Linked DNA regions of Homo sapiens: region 1 is linked to region 2. Evidence: promoter capture Hi-C in human tissues and cell types (Jung and others, 2019). All regions are on one chromosome and are shown on one strand. Each heading gives the region's core, a stretch centred on a gene start or on the middle of the fragment in contact. The rest is flanking DNA. Distances are from core to core; before and after follow the strand shown. Region 1 overlaps INPP4A (inositol polyphosphate-4-phosphatase type I A). Region 2 holds the start of C2orf15 (chromosome 2 open reading frame 15).

Region 1 (5,836 bases), core at 1,389-3,888, 670 kb before region 2:
GGAGGGCAGTGTGGGTGCAGTGAAGAGTGTGGAGGGCAGTGTGGGTGCAGTGGAGAGTGAGGAGGGCAGTGTGGGTGGAGTGGAGAGAGTGGAGGGTAGTGTGGGTGCAGTGGAGAGTGTGGAGGGCAGTGTGGGTGCAGTGTAGAGTGTGGCGGGTAGTGTGGGTGGAGTGGAGAGTGTGGCGGGTAGTGCGGGTGGAGTGGAGAGTGAGGAGGGCAGTGTGGGTGGAGTGGAGAGTGAGGAGGGCAGTGTGAGGACAGTGGAGAGTGAGAAGGGCAGTGTGAGGACAGTGGAGAGTGTTGAGGGCAGTGTGAGGACAGTGGAGAGTGAGGAGGACAGTGTGGGGACAGTGGAGAGTGTTGAGGGCAGTGTGGGTGCAGTTGAGAGTGTGGAGGGCAGTGTAGGTGCAGTGTAGAGGGGCTGACACCGTGTGGTGGGCCACCTGCTTCCCCTCCTTACTCTGGGCACTGGCCATGATGGGTTACAATGTGGTCAGGGCCTCTCAGGAGGTGCCACTCAGTGAGTGACCTCACCCGGGCCAGATGGTGACCATAAGCCGGTTGCTACCTCTGGAGTCTTGGTGGGTGGGCGGATGGCACCCAGGGTCACACAGCATTAAAAAGTGGATCCAGGCCTTTAGTATCTTGATTTTCCACTTCACCAGGTGATTGCATGAAAACATGTTGGAAAGGTAATACATGTGATTGGGGAAGATAAGTTTATTTACTGTGGGACATTTTCATAACTTCTGTTTGAGGGCATTACATATCTCACATAATTACATGCTATGAAGGTATTACCTTTGGTCTCATTCAAAAATTACAAAGTGATATATCGAGAAGAATCACCTCTCCCACTTTGCCTTCCAGTTCCTCTCCCCAGAGGCAAGCAGTTTGCCCAGCATTTTTGTGAGCCCTTCGGGGGCAGTCTGCCATATACAGACATGGACGTTTTCATACCCTCTTTCTTCTGGAGTGTGCATTCGTTTGAGCAGCTTGTTTGGAAAGCTGTATATGCAGGTTGTGAAGTCACTTTTGGTTTTGATTTCAGCCTCCCATTCTTTCCCTTTCTGCATTTGTGGTATCTAATATCACTTTGACAGCCTCAAGAGCGGCCTGTGTGTGTGGGTTTTGGTGTCCATGGTGCAGTGGGCGAGGGCCACCCGCAGCCTTCCCAGTGCTTGGTGAGGCCCAAGAGTGGATTTTGTTTTTTGAAGCAGGATTCTTACACAAAAGGACATCTCTGAAGTAGTTGGGGTTGGGAGCTTGCTTTTTGCTCTATTGTGTTGTCTTCTCTATAATGTGGAATATCTTAAAGATCCAGTTCCACCTGTGCTACGAAGAGCCCTGGGTGGGATGAGCCCACGCTGGCACCACATGGCCGCTCACCCCACAGGCATTATGGGGAGAGCCAGAGCAGGTGAATGGCCTGCCCGGGCCCTCCTGCTTGGTGAGTGACAGACAAGACCCAAACCAGGCTTCTGGCCCTAGCCCTGGGCCTTTGTTGTACCTTGATGCCCTGGGAGGCAGCAGACCCATCTCACCTGGGTGCCATCACCCTGACATTTGGCAGCCTCTCTTTGCAGATTGCCATCAGCATCAGCCTAAGTGAGGTGCAGGAATTTCATAGTTACAGGTTGGTGTTTTTTAAAAAAATTCTATTTCATGGATAAAAACATCTTCAAATAAGTTTTCTTATGCACCAAACCCATCTGGGGCCCTGGGGGATACAAAAGTTATTTTTAATTAATCACTTAATAAAAGCTTATTTGGGGCTCCTGCAGTGGCTCAGCTTTGTTAAAGATGAAGAGTTAAAGATGACTTAGGCCCTTCTCCTAAGGAGCTACAGGAGACAAGGGTGTACACTGTATCAGAAGTTTTTTTTCTTTGTGGCAACAGAAAGGGCCATGTCACAATAAGCAGAGGGTATTTATTTCTGTCTGGAAGTGGGTGAAACTTTACAGGGAAATTGCTGTTTAAATTGGTCATGTAGCATGAGTACAAATTGTCAAGCAGACAAGAACAGGAGGGGCACTCTTAAGTGGAGCGGACAGCTGAGCAAAGGCATAGAGAGGGCACTTGTGAGATGCTGTCGGGAGCAGCTTGTGAGTGTGGTACTTAGGAAGCTTGGGAGACAGAGGAGGGCCAGGAGATCCATCCTGGGTGCAACTTCATGCTGCATTCTGTGTGTGCCGAGAGCCACAGAGGGGATTTAAGCCAGGGAGTTATTAGCCCATTAGATTTACAAATTAAGAGAGACCTCTAAAACCCCATGGGCGGTGTTTCAAGTTCTGAGGTCATCTTTCTTTCTCAGCTATTTAAATTTGTCTCTTGACCAACCAGGATGACAGATGAGGTAGGAGAGGGAGCATAAGCCTTGGAGGAAAGCAAAACTATGGGTAACACAGAAGTAGTCAGAATATAGTGCAAAATACATTTAATCTGGCTGAAATTACTTGTAAAATTTAGCAGGACATTGAACATTTACAGATACTTTGTTTTTTTGCTTTAGGCGTCAGTATTACATTGCATGACCAACAATGGTTGTAGTCTCCTGCTGTTTGCTGGGGCATGCTGGGCTGTGTGGGCAGGGCTGGGGTTCAGCCACCCTCTCCCTTCTACCTGCTTTTCTCACCTGGGGTGGGGGCTTTGGGAGGAGGGGAGCAGTACTACCCATAGTGGGCAGGGATGGGCCTCTGGGGCGGGGGGAGCCTGTGTGTCCACCTTGCCTGCCACTAATTTTAAATAACAGTGTGGAATGCTGTTATAATGGTTTTTATTTTAAATTTTTTTCCACAAATGCACTATCTTCTCATTTTTTTATCAAGGCTAATCTACAAATGTTTAATCCACCCACAGGTAATCCAGATTTGATGCAGAATTTTACTGAAATCAACTCCAAATAGCTTTGTGGTAACAAGTCTTTGCAATGTGATTTTGCCTATGTTTTTCTCCTTAATGAGTCAGACTTGCCACATGAAATTTTTACCATCCCAAAACTTTTTGAAGAATTTAATTAGAATGGGTACATAGGATAATGAAGATTCACATTGTAGAAACTTTTAAAATTTGAGTTTCGATTGTTCCTGGAATTTTAATTTCTCTTATTTGGTGCTAGGTGATTCCCAGTTTTAGGGCCAGGTGTTGCCAGGACACACAAGCCAGTGATAGTTTGACTAAGCTTTAGGGTTGTATATTAAAGTAATGCCTGGCTGGATGCCCAGTCAAACTAAGACATGCTAAGCTCCACATTTGAGCAGTAATGGCCCTGTTTGCTGTCCCTCGGGAGGGTTCACACCCAGGAGCTCAGAGCAGGGACTTTCTCCTCCAGGGTGGGCCCCTCGCTCTGGGGAAGAGCTCTCCTTCACCAAGCCCCCTTTAGGTATCTGGTCTCCAGCCACAGTCAGGGAGGCTCTCAGCTGGGGTGCTGGGACCCAGCCCTGGGGTGTGTGTGGGGAGGAGCCCTGCTTGGGGGAGGGGTGGCGCTCCTGGAGACCTCTCCTGGCTCAGAGGGGAGTGATGGGCATTCTGAAGCGTGTCCAGCAGGGCCCACCTCCCTCTGCGCTCATGGTTTCCACAGTGGTTTGCCTCATTCACCATCACCTGAGAATGGCCAAGATAGCCTTGCCTCCCTTCCTGTCTTCCAGAAATTCTCATGGGGCCCTCCAGCCCGTTCTCTTCCTGGCCTGTGACGATAGCGGGTTAAGTTTGTACTTTTAACAGTAATTAACCTTCTTCAAGGCCTTGTTTGCCGTTATAAGTGTTCCCTGTTCTCTGGGTACTCACAGCCCCTTCCTTGCTGTCCTTGATCCAGCGGCATGGCCTGAGTGCCTCCATCCCCCTGTTTCTGGATGGCTAGAAGAGCCTCTGGGGTATCTGATTGTCAGATGGGCTTAGCAGGAGTGGTAGTAGTAATAGTGGCAAATACTTAAGTAGCATTTTTGTGCACTGGGCACATTTAGAGGGATTAAGTCATCTGATTCTTGCAGTAACCCCATGAAGTAGATGATTCTGTAACACCCATTTCAGGAGCAGGAGACTGAGGAGCAGAAGGTGAAATGAGTTCTCCCTGGGGACGTGTAGCGTGGCGGGTGAGCGGCAGTTGGGGTTGGAGCCCGGATGGTCTGGCTCTGGGGCCATGCACAGCATGCTGTGTGCAGCTCCCCCGCCGTCCCGTCTCCCTGAGCTGCCTGCTTCAGGCACGCTTCTTGGCTCTTTGTCCTGAATGGTGTGGTGGTACAGCTTGGTCTTCCTGCCTGGTAGGGAAACCATAGCCATGGGAGTCCTAGTACTGAGCAAGTGACTGTTCCTGACCCGTTTCCAGATTCTAGGGGCAGCTTTACAGCCTTTCTCTGAGATACTTGGACACCATGTTACCAGACCACAGCCTAACAACAGAGGATGAACCAGAGCCTCAATGTCGGCGAGTCTTGGGCCATTTTGGCTGTTGATTGCCTCTCTCCTGCCCTGTATCTCCAGGAACTGTCAACGTTGGTCTTGTAGAAACTGCTCTCTCTTTGTGAGTGAACAAGACCATGGCTGTCTCAGTCCCTCCGTTAGTGACTATCCTTGTTCAACCCAGAGTCCAGGAGTCTGATGAACAGAGGCTTTCTCCCTCTACCTCACCCTGCCTTTTACCTCTCCCTGCCCTGTGTGGGTCTTGCCCAGGAGACAGCGGTTGGATGAGGGAGGAGAGGCTAAGGGCCCCTCTAATGTGGACAGCCTGGGCCCTGCTGTGGGAAGAGAGCCACATGGCATGGATTGGAAATGGAGAGGGCAGAATTTGAGTCAGGAGGACCACCAGCAGCCGTGCTAGCTCTTGAGGCCTAGGTCTTCTGGCCTTTAAAATGGGACTGGAGTGGGAGGTGGATTCAGTGCGAGTGCAGTCCCTGCGGCCTACAACCTACTGTTATTGTGCGGTGCTGGTCTCCAAACTCCAGGTCTATTTTGTAGCCTATTGAGGAACTGCCTCTGATCTCCCTAAAATAGGATGTGCTATTTTGGACACTGCCGTAGGTGGGAGGGATGTGTGTTTAAAGCTAAAATAGAGCGCACTTTAATTTGCGGGTGTTTCCTTTTTCTTTCTCAGCCACACTGTGTTTAAGTCACAGTGTCCTCCCTCCCACCCAGGAGCACAGCCTCAGGCAGGCCCTGCTCTTGGTGGAGGCCTCGTCATGACTGATGAGGGAGGTGGCCACCAGAGAGGAGGATTCCTGTCGCTTGGGACCAGGACTGCTCCAAGTCCAGGGAGCTTTTACAAGGCTCTGTTCCTGGATGGCTTCTCTGCCGATCTGAGGTCCAGGGTGTGAGAAGCTGAGCCAGCCTTGCAGTCCAGCTGAGTGCCTCTCCACCAGACCTGCGCTGCTGTTAGAGTCAAGGCGAGGCAGGGCTGTGGGGGTAGGGGTGGCAGAGCACACCCCTGATCCCTAGTTAGTGGAGTTAACTCTGGGCACTCCCTCCCCCGACTTTCTTTGCAACAAATCATGGTGATCTCTTTTGACCTTTTTGATGGTTACCAATGTGGCTGTGAAGAGGGTCCCTGCCCCAGCTGGGGAGAATAGGGTGAATGGGAGTAGGAAGGTTGAGGGGGTGAGGGTAGAAGGGTGTGATGGATTTCCGAGAAGGTTGCAGGTATGTGTCTGTCCTATTCTGTCCTGACTTACTCTGCATTCAGTTCTAGCTGAGCATGAATGCAGCCCGCACCCATGACTTTCTGTGGTGGTGCTATTTTTCTGTTTTTTGAAAAGAAAGAGGTCCGGTTTTTTTGTAGATTGTTAGGACTTAACTGGAAATAATTGTGTAAGTCTTCAGGCATCTTTCGAAGATGGCAGGCTAGA
Region 2 (5,568 bases), core at 1,388-3,887:
GACAACATAGTGAGTTCCTGTATCTACAAAAATTAAAAAATAAATTAGCCAGGCATAGTGGCATCCACCTGTGGTCCCAGCTACTTGGGAGGCTGAGATAGGAGAATCACTTGAGCCCGGGAGGTCAAGGCTGCAATGAGTCATGATCGCACCACTGCACTCCAGCCTGAGCGACAGTGAGATCATGTCTCAAAAAAAAAAGGTAAGTGTCATGGAAATCTGAGGAAGTTTCTGTCTGGTTGAATTTTAATTTTTCAGTGAAACAGGAGCTAAGATTATATAATAAAAAGTATCATCGGTGTTGAGCAAAATATGAAGCACATAATATGTATTCAACAAATTATTGATTTTTTGATAGAATGGAAAATACTGGAGTACTTCAATGGAATTCTGAAATCTGGTTCCACAAAAGCTTACTACAGTTGAGGTGGGTTTTTCTTTTTAAAAATATTGTCTCCAAAAGTGTAGACTTATAGACATTGAAGTAGAAAGGAACTGCCTCACTAACAGAAGGATGTGGAAAACCATACAAGATTTATGAATAATTCTGAGAGAGTATTTTATATAATAAAAATAAGTGGATAAATATTTTGGGAAACAATCAGCAAACTAAATACTGCGAGCAACAATAAAGATTAATCTTAAAAAAAATGTTGAGTAAAGAAGCAAGATGTAAATGAATACTTAGTACAATTCCATTCGAAGTTCAAAAACAAGCCAAACTGTAATGTGCATGTTCACATACAATGATGTGAAACATTAAGGAAAATCAAGGAAGTGGCTATCTTAGAAGTCAGGAGAGTGGCTATCTCTGGGGAGGGAAAGAAATATGTAATCTGAAAAGGTGATAAATAGTAATACCTCTAACTGCCTCTGTGTATGGAGGACTTCAAAACCAAATCGTCCTAAACAAACTAGTCTAAGCAACTCAAAAAGAAGACAGAAAAGATCTCCCAGAGAATCTCTACACCTGATTATATTCTGGGCTACAGGCAGTGATTTTTCTTCAGAAGGTAAACAGTACGCGAGATATTGTGGAAGCTGCCATTAAATAATGCCAAAGTTTAGGATTTAAAATTAATATTTAATTAATGTACCGTCCTAGTTATTTCCCACTAATTAAGACTGAAGAGTTTGGCTCATTAATCAATTAAAATACAAACAAGAATCTGTCTTATCCTGGAAGCAGATTCGAATGCGACATCCTACTTCTATAACTAACCTGTTTTTTTCTACTTACAAACCTATTGTTATTCTACTTATGTCCTTACACGTAAACAAAGTATACTTGAAATGCTGAACACCAGTACAGAAAATTTTAAACAAGGAAATCTCCTAGGATATAAGGTCCTGGAATGGAAGAAGGAAAACGTTGGGACACTATAATCTATGCAAACTTTCCCGAAGCTGCGAAAAAAAAAAAGTGAAAAAAAACCATATTTCTGTGAGTTTTTAGGTATCAAGTCCATGATCACCTAGTTATCCAATTTAAGTCTCAAATAGTTTTTCAACAAAAGCCAGCTTTCCCTGCCTTTACTGTGTATAATTTTTACTAAAATTATCTGAGATTTTCATGCAAATGCCTATGTAATCTCAGCCTTTCACCACCCCAAGTCTAGAAAGAGGCTCAGAAATGAGCGATCGGGAGTCAGGCTGAACTCCCAAATCTGTGACTTCCAAATTCCTCGGCTCCACCAGAGCTTCCAGAGCGTTTCTAAACTGAACAGTCTCCCCAACAACCAAGCGGAGAGCTGCGGGAGGACGCGAAGCAGTGACCATAGGAACTGGGCTCAAACCTAACCTCCCAAGAAACAGGGGCAACTCGTGCTGCCGAGCTTCCGGCCGGCAGCTGTGCCCGCCGCTGCCCCTCACAGCCGCTCCCGCTGCTAGCGCCCAACTCCGCCCGCCACGGCCCCGCACCCGCCACTCCTGCCCGCTTGCAGCCGCCTTCTCAGAGACCTTCCAGTCCAGTAGCAGCACTCTCCCCACCCCGCGCACCTCCGCAGCTTCTACCTGGAGCTCCGGGTCCCTCCCCGGGCTCCTCGGCCCGCCGTCCTGCCCAGAGCTCATCCCCGCGACTGTCAGCTCTCGGCCTCAGCGGGGGATACAAGAACCGCCCACTCTCCATCCTCCGCCCCTTTCTCCTCCCTTCCCACCCCCAAATCGTCCTGGCCCCGCCCCGGCGGATCGGAGGAAGGACGGAGCCCGCGGGAAGGAGGAGGGGGCGGTTAGCGCCAGCCAGTGCCGCCGTGGCCCCGCCCTCACGCTCTGTACCGGAGTGGGGCTCGTCTTCCACCTCCCCGGCGCCCCAGCTTTGCTTCCGTCCCGCTCGCCCCCAGGCCCGGTGCGCACGCGTACCTGGCTCGACCTTCCTTCTCGCGGGGTCTACAAGCCGTGCGCGCGCTCCTACGCACGGAGCGACGCGTACGTCTACCTGCCTGCCTTACAGGGCACCTAGGAGGGACCCCTTCCTGGCCCATCCGCGCCGCGCAGGCGCACGCCCACGCAGCGCCTAGACGCCCGAGCCGAGCGTCCCGTCTCCTAGTAACCAGCCGCTAGCCCCCTTTTCCACGACTCATTTCTTAATCTCTGCCTGAGGCTGCCGCACCTGGATGGAACGCGCATGCGCAAGGCTGTCTCTCGCAGCCCCGCCTTCCCTCAGCTTGAAACACCTGCTGCTTCGCGGCGGTGGCTTTGTGCCACTTTTCCCAGGGCTTGGGCATCATTCTGGACCCATGTTCGGTGAACCGGTTACTCTCAGAGCTGCTTTCGGGCGCAGCTCCTGCTGCAGCCAGGGCCCGTTTTAAGAGAGGCTTCCAGGTCCAGCCCTCCCGCTGCAGCCTGCAGGGAGCGAGCCGGCCTGTCCCGGTGAGCGTGGGCAGCCTGGAGTCAGGGGAGCCTGGGGACCACGGCCTTGGTCAGCTCTGCACGATCAGGGCTGAATCAGGAAGTGGCAGATCTAGCAACAAAGTCCAGATTCCTGACCGATATTCCTTCTCCACATGCCAGTCCTTTTCCAAATCCCCTCACCTTAAAGTGACAAATGAGCTTTTTAGTGAAAAAGAATGAGCGCTGCATTCTTCTACCAATTTTTTGGAGCCCAGAATGGGGGGGAAAAAAGTCTTCTTAATTTTTCTTAATACCTACCATGTCCCTTCTTAAATAACTCAAGAGCTTCTGGATGATAATGGTGACTTTATCTCCTTTTCCTGCAGATGACATAGACACTAGGTTTTTACAGCAATTCTCTGATGACCTTGATATGGTAGAACGCTGTGTATTTCAAGAGTAAGCTCTCGTTTGAGGAGACTAACAATTCCTGTTTTCGCCAGGTGAGTACTCATTTTTCCCCCCACAAGATATCATTGGCAGGGATAAACAACTTTTGTGTAGAACAAATTTAGTCATAAAAATACATTTAATATAAATGCCATGTTTTTCCAATGTCTTTTCATCGTGTTATTACATGGTCTCATATTTTGTCGCATTTATTTTCAGATATCATATACTTTGTAAGTATAATTAGATACCAAAAAAAATTAAGTGTCCCTGTTATTTTAGATTAAGAGGTTAGAGGACACAAGGAGCACATATCCTCGGAAATGTAATTTTTTAAATGCACAAAATAACAAACTGAGAAGTTATGTTAGAGGGAATAATGTATAATCTCATTTCCTCTTCAGATACTAAGATTATTTTGAATACATTATCTAGCATTATTAAAAACAAATAGGAAAGAATGTTCTAAGTTTAAAACTATCAGCTGGAGTTGAAGACTTCGGGGGTGGGGAGATTATTAATATAGGAAGTAGGAAAGTACTTCCCTTATAGAAAGAATAAGAAAAGTTTAAGCACTTATGTATGCCACCTAGACGGTACTGAAGATTATTTGGAAAGAATATAAGGAAATGATCATTTTAAGGCCAAAAGAGGGTGAAAAGATTTTCCTTTTTTTTCCTATCAAGAACTGTTGACTTTCTCCCCTAACCTGAGAAAGTAAAAATTTCCTTCCCTCTGTGGAAACCCAAGGGGTAGTGAGTGTCCCACCCTGCCCCAACTAAACCTTTTTTTTTTTTTTTTTTTTTTTTTTGAGACAGAGTCTCACTCTGTCGCCCAGGCTGGAGTGCAGTGGCACGATCTCGGCTCACTGCAACCTCCGCCTCCCGGGTTCATGCCATTCTCCTGCCTCAGCCTCCCAAGTAGCTAGGACTACAGGCGCCCACTACTACGCCCAGCTTTTTTTTTGTTTGTTTTTTGTTTTTTGTATTTTTAGTAGAGACAGGGTTTCACTGTGTTAGCCAGGATGGTCTTGATCTCCTGACCTCATGATCCACCCGCCTCAGCCTCCCAAAGTGCTGGGATTACAGGTGTGAGCCACTGCGCCCAGACTTTTTTTTTTTTTCCTTTTTTTTAAGACAGAGTCTCACTCTGTTGCCCTGTACCCAGGCTGGAGTGCGTTGGCATGATCTCAGCTCACTGCACCCTCCACCTTTCAGGTTGAAGCAGTTCTCCTGCCTTAGCCCCTTGAGTAGCTGGGACCACAGGTATGTGCCACCATGCCCAGCTAATTTTTGTATGTTTTTGTAGAGATGCGGTTTCACCATGTTGCCCAGGCTGGTCTTGAACTCCTGGACTCAAGTGATCCACCCACCTCAGCATCCCAAGTGCTGGGATTATATGCATGAGCCACTGTGCCTGGCCCAGGCTAAGCCTTATATAGTACCCTGTGCTTGCTCTCTCGTGACAGACACCTTCTAAGGTCTTGGTTTTCTAGTCCCTTAATTTTTCCATCATTTCAAAAGCTTCACTACAAAAACCTCTGTTATTACTATTTTTTGTTTTGTTTTCACTGTCCTCTTCCTGATCCCCTCAAAAAAAAATCTGGGACTCCAATTCCATATGTGTTAAGCCACTTGATCTTGTTCCACAGCTCACTGATGCTGTGTTCCTTTTTTTTGTTTGTTTTTTTGAGATGGAGTCTCGCTTTGTCTCCCAGGCTGGAGTGCAGTGGCGCGATCTCCGCTCACTGGAAGCTCTGCCTCGCGGCTTCACGCCATTCTCCTGCCTCAGCCTCCCGAGCAGCTGGGACTACAGGCGCCCACCACCACGCCCGGCTAATTTTTTTGTATTTTTAGTAGAGACGGGGTTTCACTGTGTTAGCCAGGATGATCTCGATCTCCTGACCTCATGACCTGCCCGCCTCGGCCTCCCAAAGTGCTGGGATTACAGGCATGAGCCACCGCGCCCGGCCTGTGTTCCGTTTTTTAAATCAGAGAGTTTCCTCCTTATGCCGAGGCCTGAAAGTTCCAGGCAATGTCCATTCATAGGGCTCACTTTATTTCCTGTTTCTCAAGGATCACTCTCCCGAACTGCCTGTTGTCCAATATCTAAAAGCCATTGCTTCATGTGTTTTGTGTTTTGATGCTGAAAGCAGGCGGGGCACGGTGGCTCATGCCTGTAATCCAGCTACTCGGGAGGCTGAGGCAGGAGACTTGCTTGAACCCGGGAGGCAGAGGTTGCGGTAAGCCGAGATCGTGCCATCGCCCTCCAGCCTGGGGGACAAGAACA

What was found. Contacts are between HindIII fragments. The study calls those that stand out against the background at their distance.
Region 1: a fragment that was not itself captured here is called in contact with the fragment with the promoter of C2orf15 in region 2 in 1 of the 25 tissues and cell types used here (dorsolateral prefrontal cortex).

What each region holds. Positions count from the first base shown.
Region 1 is chr2:98,473,117-98,478,952 of GRCh38, forward strand. The region is part of intron 1 of INPP4A (inositol polyphosphate-4-phosphatase type I A); the gene reads left to right. Among named protein-coding and RNA genes, the nearest start is that of INPP4A, 31 kb to the left of the region's middle. The HindIII fragment of the contact is 4,957 bases long and covers 161-5,117 here.
Region 2 is chr2:99,139,070-99,144,637 of GRCh38, forward strand. It overlaps C2orf15 (chromosome 2 open reading frame 15), which reads left to right and starts at 2,638. Exons shown (of 4, transcript NM_144706.4): 1 at 2,638-2,868; 2 at 3,216-3,332. The region is part of intron 1 of TSGA10 (testis specific 10); the gene reads right to left. RefSeq lists silencers at 1,898-1,967, 2,038-2,347 and an enhancer at 2,569-3,375. The HindIII fragment of the contact is 7,971 bases long and covers 1-5,568 here.